Linked DNA regions of Homo sapiens: all the other regions are linked to region 1. Evidence: promoter capture Hi-C in 16 types of primary human blood cells and fetal thymus (Javierre and others, 2016). All regions are on one chromosome and are shown on one strand. The core of a region is centred on a gene start or on the middle of the fragment in contact, and the rest is flanking DNA. Distances in the headings are between cores, read along the strand shown. Region 1 holds the start of KRTAP4-12 (keratin associated protein 4-12). Region 2 overlaps LOC100505782 (a long non-coding RNA gene). Region 3 overlaps LOC105371777 (a long non-coding RNA gene).

Region 1 (3,807 bases), core at 713-3,212:
TCTTCTTCTTCTGTCACCCAGGCTGGAGTGCAGTGGTGCAATCTTGGCTCACTGCAACCTCCGCCTCCTGGGCTCAGGCAATCCTCCCACCTTAGCTTCCTGAGTAGCTGGGACCACAGACCACAGATGCATGCCACCTCGCCATTTTTTTTTTTTTTTTTGCTTTTTTTTGTTTTTTTGGTAGAGATGGGGTTTTGCCAAGTTAACCAAGTTGGTCTCAAATTCCTAACCTCAAACAATCCGCCTGCCTTGGCATCCCAAAGTGCTGGGATTACAGGTGTGAGCCACCGTGTCCAGTCTCAGAAGTCTTTTATATACTATTAACCCTTTGTCCGTGATATTAATTGCTAGTTCTTTTTTTATTATTTAGTCATTTGTGTTTTTACTTTGTTTATGATGGTTTCTTACCATACATTTTTTTTTTTTAAATTTTACTTTAAGTTTTGGGATACATGTGCAGAACATGCAGGTCTGTTACATAGTTATACATATGCCATGATGGTTTGCTGCACCTATCAATCCGTCATCTGGGTTTTAAGCCCGACATGCATCAGGTATTTGTCCTAATGCTCTCCCTCCCCTTGTCCCTCACCCCCGACAGGCTCCAGTGTGTGATGTTCCCCTCCCTGTGTCCATGTGATCTCATTGTTCAACTCCCACTTAGGAGTGAGAACATACCTTGCATCTTTTTAATTATAAATAATTGTTTTTAAATATCAGGAGGGATTTAATTGCAAAATGTTCATGCGCAAAATGTTCCTTGAACACTCTAGGAGAGACGCCCTTTCCCTGTTACAGACTGTGTGACTTCAATCTATCTGGGCCTCAAGTACCTTGGATGTAAAGAATTTAGAAAAATTGTGTCTACATAGCAGAATCCTTGTGAAGTATAAACAAGATAACAATTATAGAGGACTCAGAAAATTCCTGACACATAGTAAGCACTCAAAAAATTATAACTATTAGTATTGTTTCATCTTTCATTGGAAGTGTACAGATTAAATACATAATTGTTATTTTGTTCACTAATCACACCATTCTCTAAATAGTTGCTAAATTCTTTCCTATACATGTTTCTTATTTGTCTTGTTTAAGCTTCTGTAGGACAGAAATTAAACTTGATCCTTTGTTTCTTTTCTCCATGTATCAAGCAAAATATCTCCAACATACATTGTGAGAAAAAGCAGCTTTCGAGTATGAGAAAATCTACTTTCAATAACACTTCAGTTAAACACATTCAGTGGGTATCTTGACTTACCAACAAAATAGAACAAAAATGTTCCTTATGATCCCCATCTCTGAAGAACATGCCAACAATAATTTATAAAGGGACCTATCATGCCAATGTATTTTTACTTGTAAAGCAATGAATCATTGCATTATATCTGTTTCAAGCTAAATAGAGTCAATAACATGAAACAGGAATTTCAGTGGGATCTTTTATATCTCACTGACCAGCCACAAAATTCAAAGGAATCACAGTGTTCCTTATTATACACAAGTTACCTCCTATCACCCCCCAAAGATGAATCTTTCATCACATTTTCCTACCAGCATTCTATGTAATTTATTTTTAACCTCTTTGAGAGCAGAGGAGATTTAGTCATCATAAAATCTATTTTCAACTTATTATCCAGGAGTCAAATAAATAAAGAATTAACTTATGAAATCCAATCAAACAATGTCATGTAATGGGTCTACACATCAGAAGACACATCAGATGAAGGAAGGAGAATGAGAGCTGATTCACTTGGCTTAACCAAATTGGATAGCTCAGAATACAACAGGAAAAGGAAATGTTGCCTTTTCTATTTATAGAAATATTTACCAGATAAGGACAACTATCTAATTTACTAAAAAACAACTGATTCTCTATTAGTAATGTGCAAACCACAAGATTATTCACATTGTCATAGTGGTTCTCAGCAGGGTATAAAAAGCAAAAGAGAGAACAAGGAGAGATCAAACTCAGAACACTCACTCTCCTGGAAACCCACCGAGAACCTCCACCCTCTGACACCATGGTCAACTCCTGTTGTGGCTCTGTGTGCTCTGACCAGGGCTGTGGCCTGGAGAACTGCTGCCGCCCCAGCTGCTGCCAGACCACCTGCTGCAGGACCACCTGCTGCCGCCCCAGCTGCTGTGTGTCCAGCTGCTGCAGGCCCCAGTGCTGCCAGTCTGTGTGCTGTCAGCCCACCTGCTGCCGCCCCAGCTGCTGTCAGACCACCTGCTGTAGGACCACCTGCTGCCGCCCCAGCTGCTGTGTGTCCAGCTGCTGCAGACCCCAGTGCTGCCAGTCTGTGTGCTGCCAGCCCACCTGCTGCCGCCCCAGCTGCTGTCAGACCACCTGCTGCAGGACCACTTGCTGCCGCCCCAGCTGCTGTGTGTCCAGCTGCTGCAGACCCCAGTGCTGCCAGTCTGTGTGCTGCCAGCCCACCTGCTGCCGCCCCAGCTGCTGCATCTCCAGCAGCTGCTGCCCCTCTTGCTGTGAATCCAGCTGCTGCCGCCCCTGCTGCTGCCTGCGTCCAGTCTGTGGCCGAGTCTCCTGCCACACCACTTGCTATCGCCCAACCTGTGTCATCTCCACCTGCCCCCGCCCCTTGTGCTGTGCCTCCTCTTGCTGCTAAATCTCTGCTGTGAACACACCACTTCCTTATTACGTCCTTTCCTACAGATGAAGGCTCTCATTGCAAACATGCGGACTGTTCAAGAGAATTGATCTGGGTCCCATAAGCAAACCTCATCCTTAGAAATTCTGTATTTGCATTCTACCTTTTGTCCAAACTCCCTTCCTTCCAAAGGAATTCATTGACAATCTCCTAATAAATTGACAAATTGTCCTCCAACATCCTCCCACCTCTTTGACTTCAGGACATTTATTCATCATGCCTAAGGAATTTGAAGATTGCCTCCATCATTTGTAGGGCCACAGATCTTAAAGCCTCCAACCTTGAAGTCCAGTGAAGTCTCTCTCTTAAAGTCTTTTGCAAACATTTTTGTACCTTGTTATTTCCATGTACCAAAATAAACCTCTATTCTATTGGCACTGAAAATTGAATATGATTCTTATTCTCTTTTTAAAAAGGGTTTTATATTTAGGTCCTGGGTGATTACATTTAACTACACCTGTAGGGCTCACAGCACAGATTAGTCAACCTTCTAACAGAGGTCAACTGACATCGATCACTGCCTAGTTTTTTTCTAGAAAAGTCTTTTCAGGCTTAGGCAAATCAATTAGTCATTTTGTATTCTTTAGACAAAAAGAGTGAAGCTGAAGTCATGAAATATCCATGAATATAACAACAGGGGAAACGTTTTGAAAGATTGATCACAACTCATCATCTTTTAAAAAATAATTTCAACTTTTATTTTAGAATCAAAGAGTACATATTCGTATTTGTTACATGTTGTGTGATGCTGAGGTTTGGGCTACAAATGATTCTGTCACCAGGTACTGAGCAGTGGGTCATTTTTAGCCCTTCCTCTCTCCCTCTCTCCCCCCTTTTTGGAGTCCCCAATTGTTCTCATCTTTGTGTCCATGTGTATCCAATGTTTAGCTCCCATTTGTAAGTGACAACATGCAATATTTGGTTTTCTGTTCCTGGAAAAATTTGCTTAAGATAATGTCCTCCAGCCACATCCATGTTGCTGCAAAGGACAAAATTTCATTCTTTTTTATGGCTGTGTAGTATTCCATGGTGTGAAAATGTCACATGTTCTTTATCCAATGCACTGTTGATGGGCACCTAGACTGATTCCATGTCTTTACTATTGTGCACAGAGCTGTGATCTTTTAAAACACTGTAT
Region 2 (3,807 bases), core at 654-3,153, 290 kb before region 1:
CTATCTGGCCCTTTCTGGGTCACTGGGCAGAGCAGAAAGAACTTGGGCTTCAGGGTCAGGCAGACCTGGGCTGACATTTCAAGGCCCATACTTTTCATTCCAACTTGGTGAGTTCAGACAACATCCCTAACTGCTCTGAGCTTTGTTTTCTTTACTCTACAGTGGGATACTTGTAACTGCTTTGTAGTGTGGTTATAAGGATGAAAAGACACAACTATATGGGAAGCATATGGTATAATACTTGGTGGCACATAGTAGGTGGTCAAATAATAACACAGTAGGCCGCACATAGTAGGTGTCTATCTAATTTGCGTGTATAGATTTGTGAATGTGTGAGAGAGAATTAAGTAAAATATTGTATACCAAGTGCCAAGCTCGGTTCCCTTCACATAATAGATGTCAATAGATATTACTTCATGTGACCTTTATCTGTCCTTTATGAACATTGTTTTTCGCGTGGACTGGCCTCTTCCCCACAGGCATAAGCAACACAGTGTGCATATTTTCCTTTTTGTCTCTCCTCTCTCCTTCATCCTAGATATCCTCCTAAAACAAACCTCAGCAAAGAAGAGCAAACTAGGAAAACAAACAGAACTTGCTTATTACATTGGAGAAAACTGCATGCTAACTGATTTGAAGTACAGTAATCCAAACACTGGCTCCTCTTGAATTCATCAAATCCTGTTTTGTGACCTGGTGCTTCATTCACCTAGGATGAAGTCACCACAAAACTTGTCTATTGCTATGGAGCAGTGATTCCGTCTTCCAAGGGTGGTCCCCAGACCAGCAGCATCAGTGTCATGTGGGAACTTGTTAGAAATGCAGACTCCCTGGCCTGACCCCAGACCGCTTGAATCAGAAACTGTGGTGTGGGGCCTGAAAACCTGCATTTTTTGCAAGCCCTCTGGGTGATTCTGATGCTGGTTAAAGTTTGACCACTGGTGGAGATGTTATGAAAATAGAAGCAGACAATATTTTTAGCATAGAGGAGTACAAACTTCACTCTTACAGGCTTCAGAAATGCAATTTGGCTCTTTGGGTTGACATTTTGTGTCATTCAAACTCATTTCTTTGGGGGTCCAGTACTTGGGACAGGCCTGTTGTTGGCTGTTGCATTTCTGAAGTTGTACCCAGTTCTCTTGAGCCCACTTCTGCTTCTGAGTGTTTTCTTGTGTTCATCCTCTTTTTTTTTTTGTCACCCAGGCTGGAGCACAGTGGCTCGATCTCGGCTCACTGCAACCTCCACCTCCCAGGTTCAAGCAATTCTCCTGCCTCAACCTCCCGAGTATCTGGGACTACAGGCGTGTGCCACCACACCCAGCAAATTTTTGTATTTTTAGTAGAGATGGGGTTTCACCATGTTGGCCAGGATGGTCTCGATCCTTGATCTCGTGATCCGCTTGCCTCGGCTTCCCAAAGTGCTAGGATTACAGGCGCGAGCCACTGCGCCTGGCCTGTTCATCCTCTTTTTCTGGAAAACTGTCTCCCATCTTTCCTGCCCATCCAAGTCTTCCCAATCTTAAGTTCCAGACAAAGTGTCTTTGATGGCCCCTCTATATCTCTAAGCTCCAGTCACTTCTCCCTCCACTGAGTTACGTGACCTCTTTTTCTGCTCTCAGCTTTTTGAGGGTGGAAATTTCTCCTTTTCATCTCTGCATCCCCCATCCCCTTGAGAAGGGCTTTGGTATAACAGGAGTTCAGGAATATCAGACATTCAGAGTAAGTCACCAGGATAAGGCAAATCATGCCTTGGAGAATATCACCCACATCTGTATAGAGTTACAGAGAAGGGTCCCCATGCGTCTCATTGACTGTATATGGGACCAACTGGTGGCTGGCTGGTTGTCATGGCTGAATAGCCAGTGGCTCCAGCATGGTTTACACAAAAGTCCTGGGCAAGAAGGTTTTCTGGCCATCTACTGGCAGCCTTTCAATCTAAACTAATCAGAAATCCCACTGTACAGCCCGCACTTAAGAGTGATAGTAACTGTTACATCATGGAGCATGTCCAGGGAAACATTCCTGGGATGGCAAGGGGACTTTGAACCATGCTGAATGCAGAACCAGGAGTAAGAAATCTCACATCTGCCACAAAGAGCTGAGAATATGGCAGAATGATTAGATTTATCCTGTATGGGACACCATGGGGGAGAACTGGAGAGTAAATGAACTAAAGGGCCAACTCTCTGACTTACTTGCCAATGTATTACTAGCCTCCAGCTCAGCCCCTGGTTGGCACAGAGTAGGTACTTCATAGCTATTTGTTGAATGAATGAATGAATGACCCAACAAAAGCTATAGGGAGAGGTAACACGAAGGTAGATTTGTGAAGACTTTCTAAAAATTCTCTATAATGTGAGTGCCTTAAGGCTGAGCTAGCTGCTGTTAATTTTCTGGATACCAGTGTCTTGCACAAAGCCTGGGAAGCTGTTTGTAAGCCACAGGAACTGATGGTGTAAGCTCTCCTGGAAAATGGTGGACTAGATGACTAGTTGGAGGAAGGTCATCGAAGGGATTTAATGCAAATGGGTACTAGACTAGAGGACCCTGAAGTCCCTTTCGTCCTGGAGATGCTATGTTGTAGTGCCAGCTGAAACACACTTGCTGCTTCAAGGGCCCTCGTGGTGAATTCATTCATCTTAGGAATGCGGTCAAATTAGCATCTTTGTTAGCATAGACTGGAAGCTGGCTAGCTGCCCTTTTCCAGGGTGTATTGAACAAATGGCCACTGGCTTATTTGTTTTAGAAATAGGGGAGGCCATAAAGGTTCTGATGCTCTGAGTGTGTCTGAAGATTAAGGAAATTTAAATTTTGTTCTAGAGTCTCCCAAGCAATGGATAATCAAGGTAGATGCATTTCAAAGAAATGCAAAAATATTTCAAAAGATGAAAGATCAAAGTTCTTGAGTACGTATCTTCTGTAAACAAGGGTGATGAGGGACTCAGTCTGGTGAAAGGGTCAATAGAAAGGAAAGATGCCTGGGAAGGTGGGTGAGGCCCTGAGAACAGACACCATAAAGTGTTAATCACTGCCTGCCTTAATTAGCCTGTAGACTCCAGTACACAGAAGCATAATTTTATTTTCTGAAAATTGCAAACCATCAGTTTTATTATGAGCCGTTTTTTTCTCACTCCCAAAACGCTTATCTGTTTCACGTATGCACAGGGAAAGTCTTAATTGCCAACATCTGTTTTATAGGTTGTGTATTGATTTTAATTCAGTTCAAAATACTTAAAAATTTTTAAATTAGATTTCTTATTTAACCCAAGGAGTATTAAAAACTGTGTTAGTTTTCAAACACCAAGATTAATTTTGAACTTAGGTTTCATTTTCAGTTTTCTAATAATTTGTGTAAAGGAACTTTCCACCTTTTTTCTGCTACTTTCCTTCAAAAGGAAGCTGGCTATTTATTTTTCCTTATACTTGAAAGTCGTCTTCCAGGGCAGATCCCTACCTTTCACTCACCTTTGCCTCAAGACCATGGTCCTGGTATTTAAGACTTTTCACAACCTGGACTCAATGCAACTTTCCGGGGCTTGGGGATAATGTCTCCATTATAAATACCAACACAACTAGACTATTTTCCATTTTCCAAATGTTTGATTGTGTTTATTTTGTTCTCTATGAGAGAAGCTCATTCCCCAACCCTTTATAAAAAATATCATTCAAAACATATTTGGAAAATCCCCTACTCCATGAAGTCTTTTTCCGGTCTCTCAGTGAGCTCTCTTCCACCTCGAAATCTTTGCAGCTGTCTTTTAAAAAAAAAAAAATACTTCCTTTTACTGTCTTCATAATATCAAGATC
Region 3 (3,807 bases), core at 619-3,118, 260 kb after region 1:
CAATGCTTAATTTAGAAGCCTACATTAAACAACCAGTGTTGGATTAATATTTGAAACACTAACTCTTGCCCCCTTATTCCATTTTTATCTTTAGACCCAACCAAAACCCGAAAAATCAAGACAGTTGTGCAGGAGATGGTGAATGGTGAGGTGGTCTCATCTCAAGTTCAGGAAATTGAAGAACTAATGTAAAATTTCACAAGATCTGCCCCATGATTGGTTCCTTAGGAACAAGAAATTTACAAGTAGAAATTATTCCTTTCAGAGTAACATGCTGTATTACTTCAATCCCTATTTTTGTCTGTTCCATTTTCTTTGGATTCCCTATTCACATTGAATCCTTTTTGCCCTTCTGAAACAATATTCAGTCACAAGTCATTTTGGTCATGTTGGTCTTTGTAACAAATCAAAATTACCTTATATCCTTCTGGACCTGGAGTAGTCTTTTAACGAACTTTCTTCTGGTAACCCGGAATATTTTTTAATCATAGAGCTTTAATCAAGTAGTATTGTTTTAATAGAGTTAATTGTAATAAAAGATGAATGGTAATAATGTGAAATGTATGCCTTGATTCCAACAAGAATGTCAAGAGCATAGAGAGAAGTTTTTGAAATACTACTAATAAAATAGAGGCTGGGAGTAATGACTCACACCTATAATCCCAGCACTTTGGGAGGCTGAGAGGCAAGATGATTGCTTGAGGCCCGGAGTTCAAGACCAGCCTGGACAACATAGAGAGACCCCCATCTCTACACAACATTAATAATGATAATAATGATAATGTAGATAAAACTGGGATGAAGATGTCAGGGTTTGAGGATTAAGCTAAAAGAAGATTCTTTTAGAAGTTCTGGCCTTTTTATGTAAGCTCATCAAGGTTGTAGCAAAATTATATTGTCTACTACAGCAGTTGAGAGTTGTCCTGTTCATTTTCTAGCACCATCATTCATGCAGTCAAGAAACGCTGAGCCCCTACAGTGTGCCAGGTTGGAGGCTCAGTGATGAATATGATATGGTCCTTGCCTTGAGGAGCTCATGGTTGAGGGCAGAGATAAACACCTACCAAGAATGTTGATACAGTGAGATCTGTTGAATAGAAGTTCAAAGGGCTGGGCACCATGGCTCACGCCCGTAATCCCAGCACTTTGGGAGGCTGAGGCGGGCAGATCATGAGCTCAAGAGATCAAGACCATCCTGGCCAACATGGTGAAACCCCATCTTAACTAAAAATACAAAAATTAGCCGGGTGCAGTTGCAGGTGGCTGTAATCCCAGCTACTCAGGAGGCTGAGGCAGGCGAATCACTTGAACCCGGGAGGCGAAGGTTGCAGTGAGCCAAGATTGCACCACTGCACTCCAGCATGGCAATAGAGTGAGACTCTGTCTCAAAAAAAAAAAAAGCAAAAAAAAGAAAACAAACAGAACTTCGAAGGACACATGGAAGAAGTGAACAATTTTCCAGGAGGGGCAATGAAATGCTACATAAAGAAATCATCCAGGTAGACGAGGGAGAAAGGCAACAGGGCAAATACATGTGAAAAGACAGAGGGTGTGAACAAACATGGTTCTGCTCTCCTTTCTCCTAGCTGGCAGCAGTGAGGCCCAGGGTGGGGTCCCCACTGGGGCAGGTCAGACCCACAAGTCAGTAACAAAAATCATGTTCTGCATTAGGGAAAAAGGCAGCCAAAGTCTCAGCCTGAGTAGATGGTGGTTCAACATGGGTTGCCAAATTCAAAACCCTAAAAGGAAAATGGGCAAAATTCAATGATTAAGAGCCTGGCCTCTAACATCACACTGGGTTCAATTTCCGGCTCTGCTACTTAATAACAAGTAATTTAACCTCTGTGTTCCTCAGTTTCTTAAAGTGGAAATGATAGCAATGACTGCACCTGCTTCATGGCACGGGTTTTGTGAAGATGAAATGAGGTCGTGTACCTAAAGCACTAGGAACCTGGAAACTATTGGCACCTAGAAAGTACTCAATATTTGTGTCTTATTATTATTTACTGTATGAAACCAAAGTGGGATGAAGAAACAAGGAGACATGGTGAATAAGGAGTGTCAAAGAAGCAGAAGGGAGAGGGAGGAGTTGTGTTAGACAAGAGGAATTCCAGAGCTGAGTCCAAAGGCCAATGGCTAGTCAGCCAACTTAAGCTGATTTGCTTCAGTATGCAGCTTTTCCTTTTAATATCATTTATATGGCCAGATGCAGTGGCTCACGTCTGTAATCCCAGCACTTTGGGAGGCCAATATGGGCAGATTGCTTGGGCCCAGGAATTCAAGACCAGCCTGGACAACATGGTAAAACTCTGTCTCTACAAAAAAAATTTAAAAAATAAAAAAAAATTAGTCGGGTGTGGGGGTGCACACCTGTAGTCCCAGCTACTTGGGAGGCTGAGGTGGAAGGATTACCTGAGCCTGGGAAGGTCAAGAATGCAGTGAGCTGTTATCGTGCCACTGCACTCCAGCCTGGGCAACAGAGTAAGACCCTGTCTCAAAAAAAAGAAAAGAAAAAAATATTTTTAATGGTTTCAGATCCTCCACTCATCTCACTTTATTATACGCTCAGCTCTCTTTGTCTAGCCTTCACCTTCCAGCACACATCCTAGGGTAACCTTTACCTTTCAGACTCAAAAGGATTTTATCAAGGCCTCTGAACAAGGTCCACAGCCCCCAAGTAATAAATAAAGGATTCTACTTCCCTGGTGCTCAAAAGTGTCTGCAAATAGTTACTGCTTTAAATAACATCTGTTTTCCTTACAACTACATAAGAATGGTGTGAGACTCAAAGGGGAAAGGATTTTGCACAAGTATAAATGCAAGGGTCATTTATTAGCTAGTACCATAGTTTCTCAGCATTCCCTTCTCTTGGAAATTTTTTACCACAAAGCTCCCAGAGCCATCACTCTGTAGGCAGCTTTTTCTCAGACTTCTGTGACTGAATGTTGGCTCAATCCTCTTGTCTTTTCTCTATACTCCCTCCCCAGGTAACCTCATCTGATCCCTCCCCAGCCTCTCCTCCCTGATCTTATCCCATGGGTTTTGTTTGTTTGTTTGAGAGGGAGTCTCGCTCTGTTGCCCAGGCTGGAGTACAATGGTGTAATCTTGGCTCACTGCAACCTCCACCTCCCAGGTTCAAGCGATTCTTCTGCCTCAGCCTCCTGAGTAGCTGGGGCTATAGGCATACACCACCACGCCCAGCTAATTTTTGTAATTTTGGTAGAGACAGGGTTTTGCCATGTTGGCCAGGATGGTCTCCATCTCTTGACCTCATGATCTGCCCGCCTCGGCCTCCCAAAGTGCTGGGATTACAGGTGTGAGCCACCGCACCCAGCCAATCCCATGGTTTTAAATAGCACCCACATATTGGTGACTTGTGGCAGCCTCCAGGTTGGTGCCAGTGATCCCTGCCTCCTGGTCTTCATTCCCTTGTGTAGTTCCTTCTCACAATGAACGAGGAGCAGATTTATTGAAGAAGTGACAGTATATGACCTCCAAAGATAGATCACAAAGGCCTTTCAGTTCTTCCTTGGTCTCCTGGACTATATGCTCTTGGGGAAGTCAGCTACCGGCAGGGTTATATCGTGGGGGAAAAAACTATCTGAAAAAAATTCGTGATTTCACAAAATTTCCCATTGAAGTTCCAATGGCTAGGATTTCATGGCACAGCCAGCAAGACCCAAATAATAGTCCTTTTCTGATACTATCTTGGCCAAAATATCCTATAAGTCTTCACTTGGCAAAGGAAGCATTACATTTCTTATTATGTAACTTCACTTTGCCCTGTTCTCACTGACAAGAAATGCA

The links. The method cuts DNA at HindIII sites, captures the fragments that hold promoters and counts their contacts. A CHiCAGO score of 5 or more calls a contact.
Region 2: a fragment that was not itself captured here is called in contact with the fragment with the promoter of KRTAP4-12 in region 1 in 6 of 17 cell types (total CD4 T cells, naive CD8 T cells, naive CD4 T cells and 3 more); the score reaches 6.3 in total CD4 T cells.
Region 3: a fragment that was not itself captured here is called in contact with the fragment with the promoter of KRTAP4-12 in region 1 in 1 of 17 cell types (neutrophils); the score reaches 5.1 in neutrophils.

What each region holds. Positions count from the first base shown.
Region 1 is chr17:41,122,337-41,126,143 of GRCh38, reverse strand. It overlaps KRTAP4-12 (keratin associated protein 4-12), which reads left to right and starts at 1,962. Exons shown (of 1, transcript NM_031854.3): 1 at 1,962-3,053. The coding sequence starts at 2,022. The coding sequence ends at 2,627. RefSeq lists an enhancer at 2,282-2,835. The HindIII fragment of the contact is 5,176 bases long and covers 1,098-3,807 here.
Region 2 is chr17:41,412,367-41,416,173 of GRCh38, reverse strand. LOC100505782 (a long non-coding RNA gene) reads right to left here. Exons shown (of 3, transcript NR_040111.1): 3 at 3,586-3,755. Among named protein-coding and RNA genes, the nearest start is that of KRT37, 10 kb to the left of the region's middle. The HindIII fragment of the contact is 7,068 bases long and covers 1-3,807 here.
Region 3 is chr17:40,858,046-40,861,852 of GRCh38, reverse strand. All of the region lies in intron 1 of LOC105371777 (a long non-coding RNA gene), which reads right to left. It overlaps KRT12 (keratin 12), which reads left to right. Exons shown (of 8, transcript NM_000223.4): 8 at 95-550. The coding sequence ends at 192. Among named protein-coding and RNA genes, the nearest start is that of KRT12, 7.3 kb to the left of the region's middle. The HindIII fragment of the contact is 5,577 bases long and covers 1-3,807 here.